4 separate regions of the Homo sapiens genome follow, and regions 1, 2 and 3 are each linked to region 4. The links are contacts of gene promoters, found by promoter capture Hi-C in blood cells and fetal thymus (Javierre and others, 2016). All regions are on one chromosome and are shown on one strand. The core of a region is centred on a gene start or on the middle of the fragment in contact, and the rest is flanking DNA. Distances in the headings are between cores, read along the strand shown.

Region 1 (2,724 bases), core at 17-2,516, 1.5 Mb after region 4:
TTTAAAAGTTTTTAATCACGGATTAATGGTATACAGAACTGTTGATTTCTATATGTTCATCTTGTATGTGGTCACTTAATTATCTTCTTAGTTATAATAGTATTTCTGTTAACTCTCTTTTCTAGATACACAATACAGTAATAACATCTGCAAAAAAACTTGTTTCAGTATTTAATGTTTATAAATAATATTTTTTGATTATGTAAGTAATATAAGCTTACTGCAAAAAAATGAAAAAACACAGAAAAATATGTAGAGATGTCTTGTCAATATTTAATGTACACATTTCCAGAAAGTTGGTATTGTTTCATTTTAATAAAATCCTGTTATTTCCAACAACGTTGATGAATTGGAGGATATTATGTTAAGTGAAATAAGCCAGGCACTGAAAGACATTCTCACTAATATGTGGGAGCTAAAAAAAAATATATTGAACTCCTGGAGATAAAGAATAGAATGATGTAAAATGCCAGAGGCTAGGAAGGGTAGCTTGGGGGAAGGACAAAGAGGGGATGATTAATGCGTACATACATACAGTTGGAAAGAAGAAATAAGATTGAGTGTTCTGTAGTACAATAGAACAACAACAGATAACAATAATTTATCGGACACTTAAAAATAACTAAAAGGATGGCACTGGAATGTTCCTGACACAAAGGAACATTGTGTTGAAGTGATGAATATCCCAGTTACCCTGATTTGATCATTACACATTTTTTGCTGTGTCAAAATATCAGGTGTACCCCATAAATATTTACAACTATTATGTATACGTAGTAAATACAAATTTAAAAAATAAAAATACATCTCTAACATATCCAAAGCTGGTAAAGAAAGGGAGTGAAAGCCATTTCATTTGCCTTAGGCAAAAGGATCTTTACTGCATTGCTAATATTCCCTATTGACAGCTTAGTAATAGCTATCAAAAATTTTATGACTATACCTTTGACTCAGCTATTTTACCTTTAAGATTTCTTCTGAGCAAAAACCTCATAAATTTGCACAAAAATTATCTACAACTATGTTTATGGTAATAGTTTGAATAAAATTGGCTACCGTTCACTCAGTGCTTACTATGTGCCAAGTATTATGCTAAAACTTTTATGTACATCACCTCATTTCAACCTTGTAAAAACCTCATTGCCCCTTTCTTTTTAATTTCCATTAACAGGGAAGACTATTTAGGCTTAGATCTTAGGTGAGTTAGTCAAGAATACACAAACAATAAGTGTGTAAGTTAAAGTCATCCATCTCCAGAACCTGATAAAACAACAAAAGGGAAAAGGAAAAACAACTTAAACCATTTTTTAAAGGTACATTATAGCATATTAAACAATGGATTGTTATGAAGACATCTGCAAGTGACAATGCAAAGAAAAAATTAAGACATTGTAAAAATGTTCCCTAAAAGTTTGATCATATATACTTTGTAATCTAAGTGTTGATAAAATATACAATAAAATATTAATAGGCAGAAAATAAAATTGGGTGAATACTAAATATTTTATACATTTATATTTTCTTAATTATATATTGTAATACTTTCCATTTCATTCAATGATTACTTAGTATTTTATGTATGGATAATAAAATATACTTGATATTATGTTGAACCTTTAGGCTTTCTAATATTTCTCGTGATAAACAGTGCTGTAACGAGCATCCTTAAAAGTACTATTTGATCACATTAGTCTTGTATATTATTTTTATACAAATGAATTTTAAAATGCTGTAAAACACCTCTATATAATTATCTCAGTTTGAGGCTTTCATAGATGTTTCATTATCTATTTGTATATTTTAGTACCAGAATAACATTAGTTATATTATAGCTTCTCTATGATAAATTTTAGCATGTTTGTAACACAAGATCCTCATTATTATTTTTATTTTAATATGTACTATGCTTTCTCATCAATTTATGGTTTAATAAAATATTTAGAAATAGTTTTCAAAAATTTTAATGGTGATGTTAATTGGCATGTCTACTGCATAAATGTATCATGTATTTTTATTTCACTTGTTGACATGATAATTTTCATTTATCAGTGCTTTTTAATGTCAAAGTTTCATGTTAGGTTAATTCATCAAAAGTTGACATATTTGTTGCTATCATTAAAGTGTCTAATTTTAAATTTTATCTAATTTATTTTGAAATACTGGAAAAATGCTTATTAAATTTTTAATAGTTTATTGGTTGATTCTTCTGGGTTTGTTAGGAAATGTCAAATCATCTGTTAATATTAATGATGTTTTGTTCCAAGTCTTTTCTTGACTAGCACATAAAAAACACCGCTAAATGATGCAAAAGCTTTGGCTGTCTTGTTCTTGACTAAAATGGAAATGTATTTGATGTTTGAGCTGATGCAATTTGTTGCCTTTAATTTACTATAGAATTTTAACATATTTTATTATGTTAATAGATTTCTAAATATTAAACCGTTTTGCATTTCTAGATAAAAATGCTACTTTTCTTCAGTGTATTTAATATATTGCTAAACTCCACTTGCCAATGTTTTTTGAATAACATTTTCATCATTTGTTTGTATTCAGATTTCTTTTTTTTTTTTTTTTTGAGACGGAGTTTTGCTCTTGTTGCTCAGGCTGGAGTACAATGGCACGATCTCGGCTCACGGCAATCTCCGCCTCCCGAGTTCAAGCCATTCTCCAGCCTCAGCCTCCTGAGTAACCGGGATTACAGGTGCCCGCTGCCATGCCTGGCTA
Region 2 (2,700 bases), core at 8-2,507, 1.3 Mb after region 4:
GTATAAAAATCAGATAGGCCTAGAGAATCGAGTTCTTATTCTGTTATTTGATAGATGAGTATCTTTAGGTAAGTTATTTTACTTAAGTTTCCACATCTGTAAAATGTAGGATAAGGCCTGTTTTAAAAAGCACAAATGAGAGAATGCATCATGCAGAGTAAAACACCTAAAAAGTGATTATAAATAACACTTAATAACAAGAAGACAGTATAATGATGGATAAATTTGGATACCTTGAGCCCCAGAAAACTTGTTATGTGTTCATAGGAAATTTAGAGCTTCTTTTGAACATCTCAAACATTCTTTCAAACTAAAGCTTTAAGAGAAAAAAAGGCAAGCTCATTTCTAGACGTAACACAATTTTCACTATCTTACCCAGGGTGACATACTTTTAACAAAATTTTACAAGGTACAGAAAAAAAAGCAAGAAAAACAATTCACTGACAAGAAACAAAGCAATCAATAGAAACAGACTCACAAATGAGATACGTTGGAATCATCAGAGAGAGAATATAAAATTACTGTAATGAATATCTTAAAGGATCTAATGGACAAAGTAGCTAACACACAAGATCTGGCAAATTTCAGCAGAGATATGGGAACTATAAGAACAAATAAAACAGAAATGCCAGGAATGAAAGACTACTTAAAAAGATGAATTAATGCCTTTAATAGGCTCATTAACAGAGCTGAGGAGATAATCAGGAAACTTCAAGGCAAGTCAAAAGAAATTACCTTATCCAAATTACCATAATGAGAAAAAAGACTGGGGAAAACAATAGAACAATGCATTTAACAGTTGCGAGATAAATATCAAAGTTCTAGTACACATGTAATTGGAAACCCAGAAGTAGGAGGTTTATTTGAAAAAATAATCAGGCTGGACACGGTGGCTGACGCCTGTAATCCTAGCACTTTGGGAGGCCCAGGCAGGTGGATAACGAGCTCAGGAGATCGAGACCATACTGGACAACATGGTGAAACCTTGTCTCTACTAAAAGTACAAAAATTAGCTACGCGTGGTGGAGCACATCTGTAGTCCCAGCTACTTGGGAGGGTGAGGCAGGAGAATTGCTTGAACCCAGGAGGCAGAGGTTGCAGTGACAGTGAGCTGAGATCAGGCCACTGCACTCCAGCCTGGGCGACAGGGTGGGACTCCATCTCATAAAACAATAACAATAATCACTAAGAATTTAGCAAAATTAATAAAAGACACAAAGCAACAGATTAAAAATTCAGAGAACACCAAGAAGGATAAATAACAAAAAATAACAGGAGTAACAAGTAACCATACCATGTTTAGACTGCTAAAAAACAAAATAGAAAAAAGAAAAAAAGAAAAAAATTAAATGCAGCCAGAAAACAACAACAGCAACAACAAAACATATCCATCCAAGAAAATGAGGATATAAAAAGATTTTTTTAAATTACGGCAGACTACTCATCAGAAACCATGAAAGACTGAAGAAAAAGAAGAAAAAAAGAAATGGAATACATTTTCAAAATTCCAAAAGAAAACAATCCCCTAAAACCTGCCCATTGAGAATTCCATAGGTGATGAAACATCTTTCAAAATAAAGGCTACAAACAAAATTTGAAAATATTCATTGCAAGGAGACCAGTAAAACAAGATAAAAGAAATTTTTAAGAGAGAAAGAATATGATATTAGACATACACTTGGATCTACATTAAAATATGGATGGGGAACAGTAGAAATGGAATAAATGTAAAAAACATTCTTACTTTTAATCACTGTGAAAAACAACTGATTATTGAAAAGAGTGATCAGCAAACTATGACCCATCGGCCAAATCTTGCCTTTTACAGGCCAATTCATCTATATATTTGTCTATCTATTGCTTATAACCATTTTCACACTATAAGGATAGAGCTGAGTGGTTGCAAAGAGAGAGAGTGAGGGACTCACAAAATCAAAAATATATATTAGGCAGTCCTTTACAGAAAATGCTTGCCAACCTCTGGCCTACAGCAATGATAGTAAAATACCATTTCTTATGTGACAGAATTACGACAATAGCAAACTATGGGAGGGAAACATAGGGAATATCAGTGGTGAAGACCTTACATTACACATTAAGTATATATTATTTGCAAGTAGACTGTCTCCTTGCAATGAATACTTTCAAATTTTTTTTGTAGCCAAAGGTTGGGCATCTATAGCAATATGAAAGCTTTATGGAATATCACCACTCTACAGTTATAAATATAACCTTTAAACTTAATGCAAATAGTTATTATAAAAGGAAATTTTATGACATCATATTAGATGTTATTAGGTACATTTAAACTTTATGTGTCTAATTCATCTCATTGTGACTTCTACTTTTATGTATAAATTTTTAAAGGCAGGAGATGCAGAAGTAAGAATTGTAACCTTACTAAAACAAATATGTCATACTTTCAGGAAATATTCTAATGTTGAAATCCATCCAGTGTTTTTAAAGCAACAATGATGAAAACAAAGGAACTGGGAAATGTGACTTGCTCATTTTTATGTCCCTAGAATCTAGCACAAGCTTGGAACGTCATGGAAAATCAATAAATATTTAGTGCTAAACTGAAACAATGGGAAGATAATTTTAAAGTCATAGAGTACATTATGTTTTGCTAAATGTAGCAGTTCTCTATTTTGCCATAACAAACTATCACAAATTTAGTTGCTTAAAACAACGTAAATT
Region 3 (2,864 bases), core at 2-2,501, 1.3 Mb after region 4:
ATCTACCGTGGTGCAGGAAGTGTCCATTTGAACGTGTAGAGTTAGCTGCCTAGTCAGTTGAGTTTAAGCACAAATCTTTGAGACCTAGGAGTATGGACCTTTTTATTAAAAATTGTCCTTAAATATTTTCTGAATTAGTAACTTTTATATTGCCAATTCATCTTAGTAAGAAAATCTACTAGGGCAAGAGGACAGTCTTATAAAATCCTGTGTAGATCTCTAATGTCTCATTAGAATACATGGGAGAGTCATAAAAAGAAGAAATAAAGGTACTCAATATCTATAAAAGTAGTTTTGAGTCCTGAAAGGACAAAGGCCATGGCATTAAGATGACTGATAATATCCAGTTGTAGCCAGGATGTGGAATATGTATACTCTCACATTTTATTGGTGGGAATACTAATTGGTAGAACCTTCTTGAAGGGAAATTTGGCTGCACTACTCTTTGAGTGAGCTATTCTATATTTAGCTATTTTTCCTACAAAATTATACCCATAATGAGAAAAAACTGCACACAGTGATCTCTCTTTGTAAATGACATGAAAAGATGTCCATATATAGTTTTTAAGAAGAATGAATTTGCAAAATTATGTAGATAGCTATGTAAAGATATATCTGTATCAATTTTATATGGTTGGCATAATAAATTACCACAAGTTAAGTGGCTTAAGCAATGCAAATTTATTATCTCACAGTTCTGTAGGTCAGAAGTCAGACATGGGTCTCTCTATGCTAAAATCAAGGTGTCATCAGGGTTGCCTTGCTTACTGGAGGTTCTTGGGGAGATTGTTTCCTTGCTTGTTCAATTATTTTTTTTGGCAGATTTCAGTTGTATAACTGAGGTATATGTTTTCTTGCTGGCTATATATTGAAGGCAGTTTCCAGTTCCTAGGGGCCTCCATGTTATCTGGCTCATGGCTCTATGCCTCCATTGTCAAAGCCAGCAATGTCAGATCCAATTCTTCTCATATCACATTTATCCGACCCACTCATCTGCTTTCCTCTTTCACATTTAAGGATATCAGATTATATTGTGTCCAACTGAATAATCCAGGATAACCAACCCATCTCAAAATCTTTAACCTCAACCACATGTGCAAAGCTCCCTTGTCATGTAAAGTAACATAGTCACAGGTTTTGGGCAATAGGATGTGTACATATTTGGGGGCCCATTATTCCACCTACCCCAGTATCTGTAAGTACGTTTAATATAAATTATATTATGTAAATATATAGGCATATACAAATATGTATACATACAGGAATGAGGAGAGAGAGAGAGAGAACATCAACAACAAAAAACAAATGTATATGTGTCTAAATTTTTAGAAATAAACATACCAAACACTTTAACAGTGTTTTTCATAGAAAGTGGGTTTCAGTTTTTATATATACTTTTAAGAATGGTTTGTATTTGTACGACAAGCACACATTAATATTGCACTTTAAAAGGTAAAAAAAAAATTAATTGATCAATTAGGCTCAAGCACTTGATCAAATTCAGTTGCTATATTTCCTAGTATAAACACCTAGGGAAAGAAACAATCTCTAAGTAAAATATGTGTTCCATGAATTATTCATCAAAATAAATGGCAGACTTCACTGTAGGTGTTATGCTCTAAATTGAAGAAATTAACCTTTAAAGTATTGATTGGCTGAATTGCTGCATGTCTAAATAGAGTGGCAATTCTCAGTACATAATAATCATAACAGTACTACTACTAACTCCTGCAATCATAGTAAAAATATAAAAATAGTTTCTTTTATATTTTATCACTCTCAAAACATTTTCAATTACATTACTCTTATAAATTCTGAAAACAATCTTTAATATTAAGTAGGCAGCATAGAAAATTATCACATTTTGGAAGGAAAAATATTCAGAGGACCTAGATAAGACTTGCTCAAGGTCCAATAGGCCAAAATTGTGCAGAACCAAAATATGTACTTAGATTATCTGTTTTAGGATATATGTACAATATAAAAATATAAGACTTCTTCCCTCATGAAGTTAACAGTCTATGAAGGGGGATAAGACATGCATGTAGATGGCTTCACTCAAAGCAAAAAGTCATGAGTGTTATTTAAAAGGGTTCCAATGAAGTGTTGTAAGAGTTCAGAGAAAAGTTATTTGGAGGGGGCGGTTACTCACACAAGTACTATTTATACTGGGTATTAAATAATAACTAATTATGGAATATTTTCTATAAACAAGAATGGAGTAGTAGTGTGAAAGTATCAAAGCAGGATTGAACAAGAGTGGCTCTTTTGGAGGTAATGGCAAGGAGAAGCCAGAGAGAACCAAGAGTTATTGTGCAATTAGAATGAGCAGCAGAAGACAAATGAGAGAAAAGAATCAAAGGTGACTCTATATTGTTCATTCTAGATATATAGGCTAATGGAGTTGCTGGCAAGGCATGGGAAACATTTTCTCACCTTCTCTGACTTCTCAAACCTACTGTACAATTGTTACTGCCCCCAGCACTCCTCAGGAATTGCTTTTCACAAAGTCTCCAGTGATTTCCTTGCACTAAATATATTTTCAGTCTATACCATACTTGATATCTTGGCTATATTCAGCTCTATACTCAGCTCCATCCATCTTGAACATTTTCTCCCTCTAGTTTCCTTGACCTCACATTCTCCAATTTGACATTAGGCATCCATGTAAAGCGCTTACTGCACTCAATCCTCTGTGCACACCCACATGTTCTAAACATATTATATTGGGTCCTAATATTATTTCTCTTACTTTTCTTAAACTCCACAATTCCCCTGTAGACTTCTCTTTCTTGGTCTAGATCTTAAATAGACTCTCTTCTGTCTAGGCGCTCTCTCATATGACACATACTCACTGTTGGAAG
Region 4 (2,780 bases), core at 204-2,703:
AGCACCCATAGAAATAGAAATACCGTGCCTAAAAAGCCCTGAATCACAAGCATGCTTAAAAGTATCAAAGATAGAAATCTTGGAGCAGCCTGCCACCTTCAGGATAACTTCCCAGTTAATGCTATCTGAGATCACTGATTTCAGCTTCTATAAATTCCAAATACCAATCCCTGTAAAAATGTTCAGTATAATTAAATAAAGGGCATTTAAATTAGAGTGGCTGAAGCCGTCTTCCTTGCAGTGCTTTTGCTCTGATTAAGCATTATACTTAATGATTACATTAGTTTTCTTTTTAAAAAACTTTCCCTTTCTTCATTTTGGTTCTTTGATTCTTGTTTTATTATTATTATTCTATTCGATTATCTTTACATCAATATTTTCTTACTTTAAGCTGGTTAAAAACATCCACTCTACTTCATTTTGCTAAGCAGAGATCAGAACACTAAAAATAGATTTTGCAGCCACAGTAAGAGAAATACTGTAACTTCCTTCCTACTGCTTCCTTCCTGGTGGGTTTTATTTTAGATTAATAACAATATTTCTAAAGGGTCTTAAATAAAAGCAGCACTACAGTAACCCATTCAGGAAATGGAGAGAGACGGAGAAGGTGAATGTAACACTCGTTTTTTTGTTTGTTTGTTTTTTTTTTCTGACGTCTTATTGTCTGTTCCTTTCATTAAATTACACAGAGGCTTAAAAAGAATGAAGAAGGCAAGAGAGAAGAGAAATAGGAGAGGGAATGACTCAGCATTTAGTAGCATGGAGAAGTAAATTAGTAGCAAAAATAAGATAAGGGAAAGTATAACTAAAATCGATACCATTAGGTCAAATGAGAACGGGATGTAAAAAATAATGGAAAAAGAATACAGTGGCTTGAAAATGCATCAGGCGGGGGGACAGGAAAATAAGAGGCATTTAAATGAGAGCGGCTGAGAACAAATACTCATCGAAAGGGAACATCCTTTCATTATTTTCCTTTCACAAAAGCAGGAAAGGGCAACTTGAGAGCCCAGTTTGACCCTGGTTCAGTAAGTTCCATTTTTATCGGCTAACTCTTTGGTGGCATTGCCCTGTGAAACAACTTCAAGGTCAACTTCCTTACGACTTTGATTTTCAGCTCTTCACTGAAACTTTGGAATCACGTGGAGTCTTATCCAATGCTGGGCCTCACTCCACAAGAATTAAATCAGAAAGTCTGGGGTAGGGCCCGGCACAGAACTTTACAGAGCTTCCCGGGTGACTCCCTCGGAGTTCCAGCGTTAAAAGCAACCGTGGGTCTGGGGACTTAAGCCCCGCCACCTCCCGCCGGAAGCGGCCCTCGTGGGAGCCGTCACTCGCCCCGAAGGGAGGGGCTCCCTTTTAAATGCCCTGGGCAGAGAAGCGGTGTGTGGCCTCCCGAGCGCTAGGGGGCGACGGGCACGCATTTAAGCGCCCGCGGCGGGGCTTCCCCTCACTTGTGCGCATGCTCCGGGTGTCCCGGAGTTGTCCTGCGCCGGTGTTCCCACGTGCGGCCTGAACCTGAGCGCATAATGTTATGAGGAGATGGGAGCACTAGTGATTCGCGGTATCAGGAATTTCAACCTAGAGAACCGAGCGGAACGGGAAATCAGCAAGATGAAGCCCTCTGTCGCTCCCAGACACCCCTCTACCAACAGCCTCCTGCGAGAGCAGATTAGTCGTGAGTGGTGCGAGGGCGTTTCGGGGCCCGGGGGCGCGGAGTCCCTGTGCTGCCCGGCTGTCCCTAGCGTGGGTCCGGAGGCCGAGGGATCGGCGTCAGCCTGCTCGGCCGCAGCCGCTCGGGTTGGCGGAGCGTTGGAAGGGGGAGCCGCCAGGCCGGTGACATTGAGACTGTCCTCCGCGCCCGCGGTGAGGTCGGCGGCCCCGCCTACTTCCGAGACCCAGAGGCAGCAGCCAGTGCTCCCGCTAACCAGGCCCTCGCCGGCTGCTGTCACGGACTTGATACAGGGAATCAAAATCCGAGAGGGTCACAGAGCTTTCTCTAGGGGTCTTCACTGGACGATGGACGCAGAGCCTGACCTGGAATTTTGATTTCCATCTAAAGTATTTTCCTAACAGTCCAAATGATTATGTTTATTTTTTAAAAAAATTAAAGTGGTTAGGCCGGGCGCGGTAGCTCAAGCCTGTAATCTCAGCACTTTGGGAGGCCGAGGCGGGCAGATCACCTGAGGTCAGGAGTTCGAGACCAGCCTGGCCAACATGGCTAAACCCCGTCTCTACAAACAATGCAAAAATTAGCCGGGCGTGGTGGCGCGCCTGTAGCCTCAGCTTGTCGGGAGGCTGAGGTGGGAGAATCTCTCGAACCCGGGAGGCGGAGGTTGCAGGGAGCCGAGATCGCGCGACTGCACTCCAGTCTGGGCAACAGAGCGAGACTCCGACTCAAAAAAGAAAATAAAAGAAAGCGTTTGTGTTAAGCGTTTAGGATATTACAGGAAATTTTCCTTGATTTTAATATTGTGACTTTTTTCCTTTCCTTAGTCTATCCAGAAGTTAAAGGAGAGATTGCTCGTAAAGATGAAAAGCTGCTGTCGTTTCTAAAAGATGTGTATGTTGATTCCAAAGATCCTGTGTCTTCCTTGCAGGTAAATGTGTGTTTAATTAAGTGAATACACAATTTACTTATTTTGGGGCTTCAGGAAAATGATTAAGTGTGGCAAGTAGTAAAAAGAGTGCTCTGCAAGTGTGTGTTGTGATCAATCTACACGCCTTGGCAAAGTTTAAGCACACTGGTGTAAGACAGCAAGACACTTATGCCTTGGTTC

The links. The method cuts DNA at HindIII sites, captures the fragments that hold promoters and counts their contacts. A CHiCAGO score of 5 or more calls a contact.
Region 1: a contact is called between a fragment that was not itself captured here and the fragment with the promoter of NDUFAF4 in region 4, in 1 of 17 cell types (M2 macrophages). The highest score is 5.5, in M2 macrophages.
Region 2: a fragment that was not itself captured here is called in contact with the fragment with the promoter of NDUFAF4 in region 4 in 9 of 17 cell types (naive CD8 T cells, fetal thymus, non-activated CD4 T cells and 6 more); the score reaches 16.2 in naive CD8 T cells.
Region 3: a fragment that was not itself captured here is called in contact with the fragment with the promoter of NDUFAF4 in region 4 in 5 of 17 cell types (total CD8 T cells, naive CD4 T cells, naive CD8 T cells and 2 more); the score reaches 7.1 in total CD8 T cells.

The regions. Positions count from the first base shown.
Region 1 is chr6:95,434,814-95,437,537 of GRCh38, reverse strand. No RefSeq gene overlaps it. Among named protein-coding and RNA genes, the nearest start is that of MANEA-DT, 140 kb to the left of the region's middle. The HindIII fragment of the contact is 2,095 bases long and covers 219-2,313 here.
Region 2 is chr6:95,590,180-95,592,879 of GRCh38, reverse strand. All of the region lies in intron 2 of MANEA (mannosidase endo-alpha), which reads right to left. Among named protein-coding and RNA genes, the nearest start is that of MANEA, 14 kb to the right of the region's middle. The HindIII fragment of the contact is 1,877 bases long and covers 319-2,195 here.
Region 3 is chr6:95,564,346-95,567,209 of GRCh38, reverse strand. The region is part of intron 2 of MANEA-DT (MANEA divergent transcript); the gene reads left to right. Among named protein-coding and RNA genes, the nearest start is that of MANEA-DT, 12 kb to the left of the region's middle. The HindIII fragment of the contact is 4,478 bases long and covers 1-2,864 here.
Region 4 is chr6:96,896,564-96,899,343 of GRCh38, reverse strand. It overlaps NDUFAF4 (NADH:ubiquinone oxidoreductase complex assembly factor 4), which reads left to right and starts at 1,453. Exons shown (of 3, transcript NM_014165.4): 1 at 1,453-1,678; 2 at 2,497-2,600. The coding sequence starts at 1,543. It also overlaps a transcript of KLHL32 not described here. RefSeq lists an enhancer at 1,531-1,630. The HindIII fragment of the contact is 8,617 bases long and covers 1-2,780 here.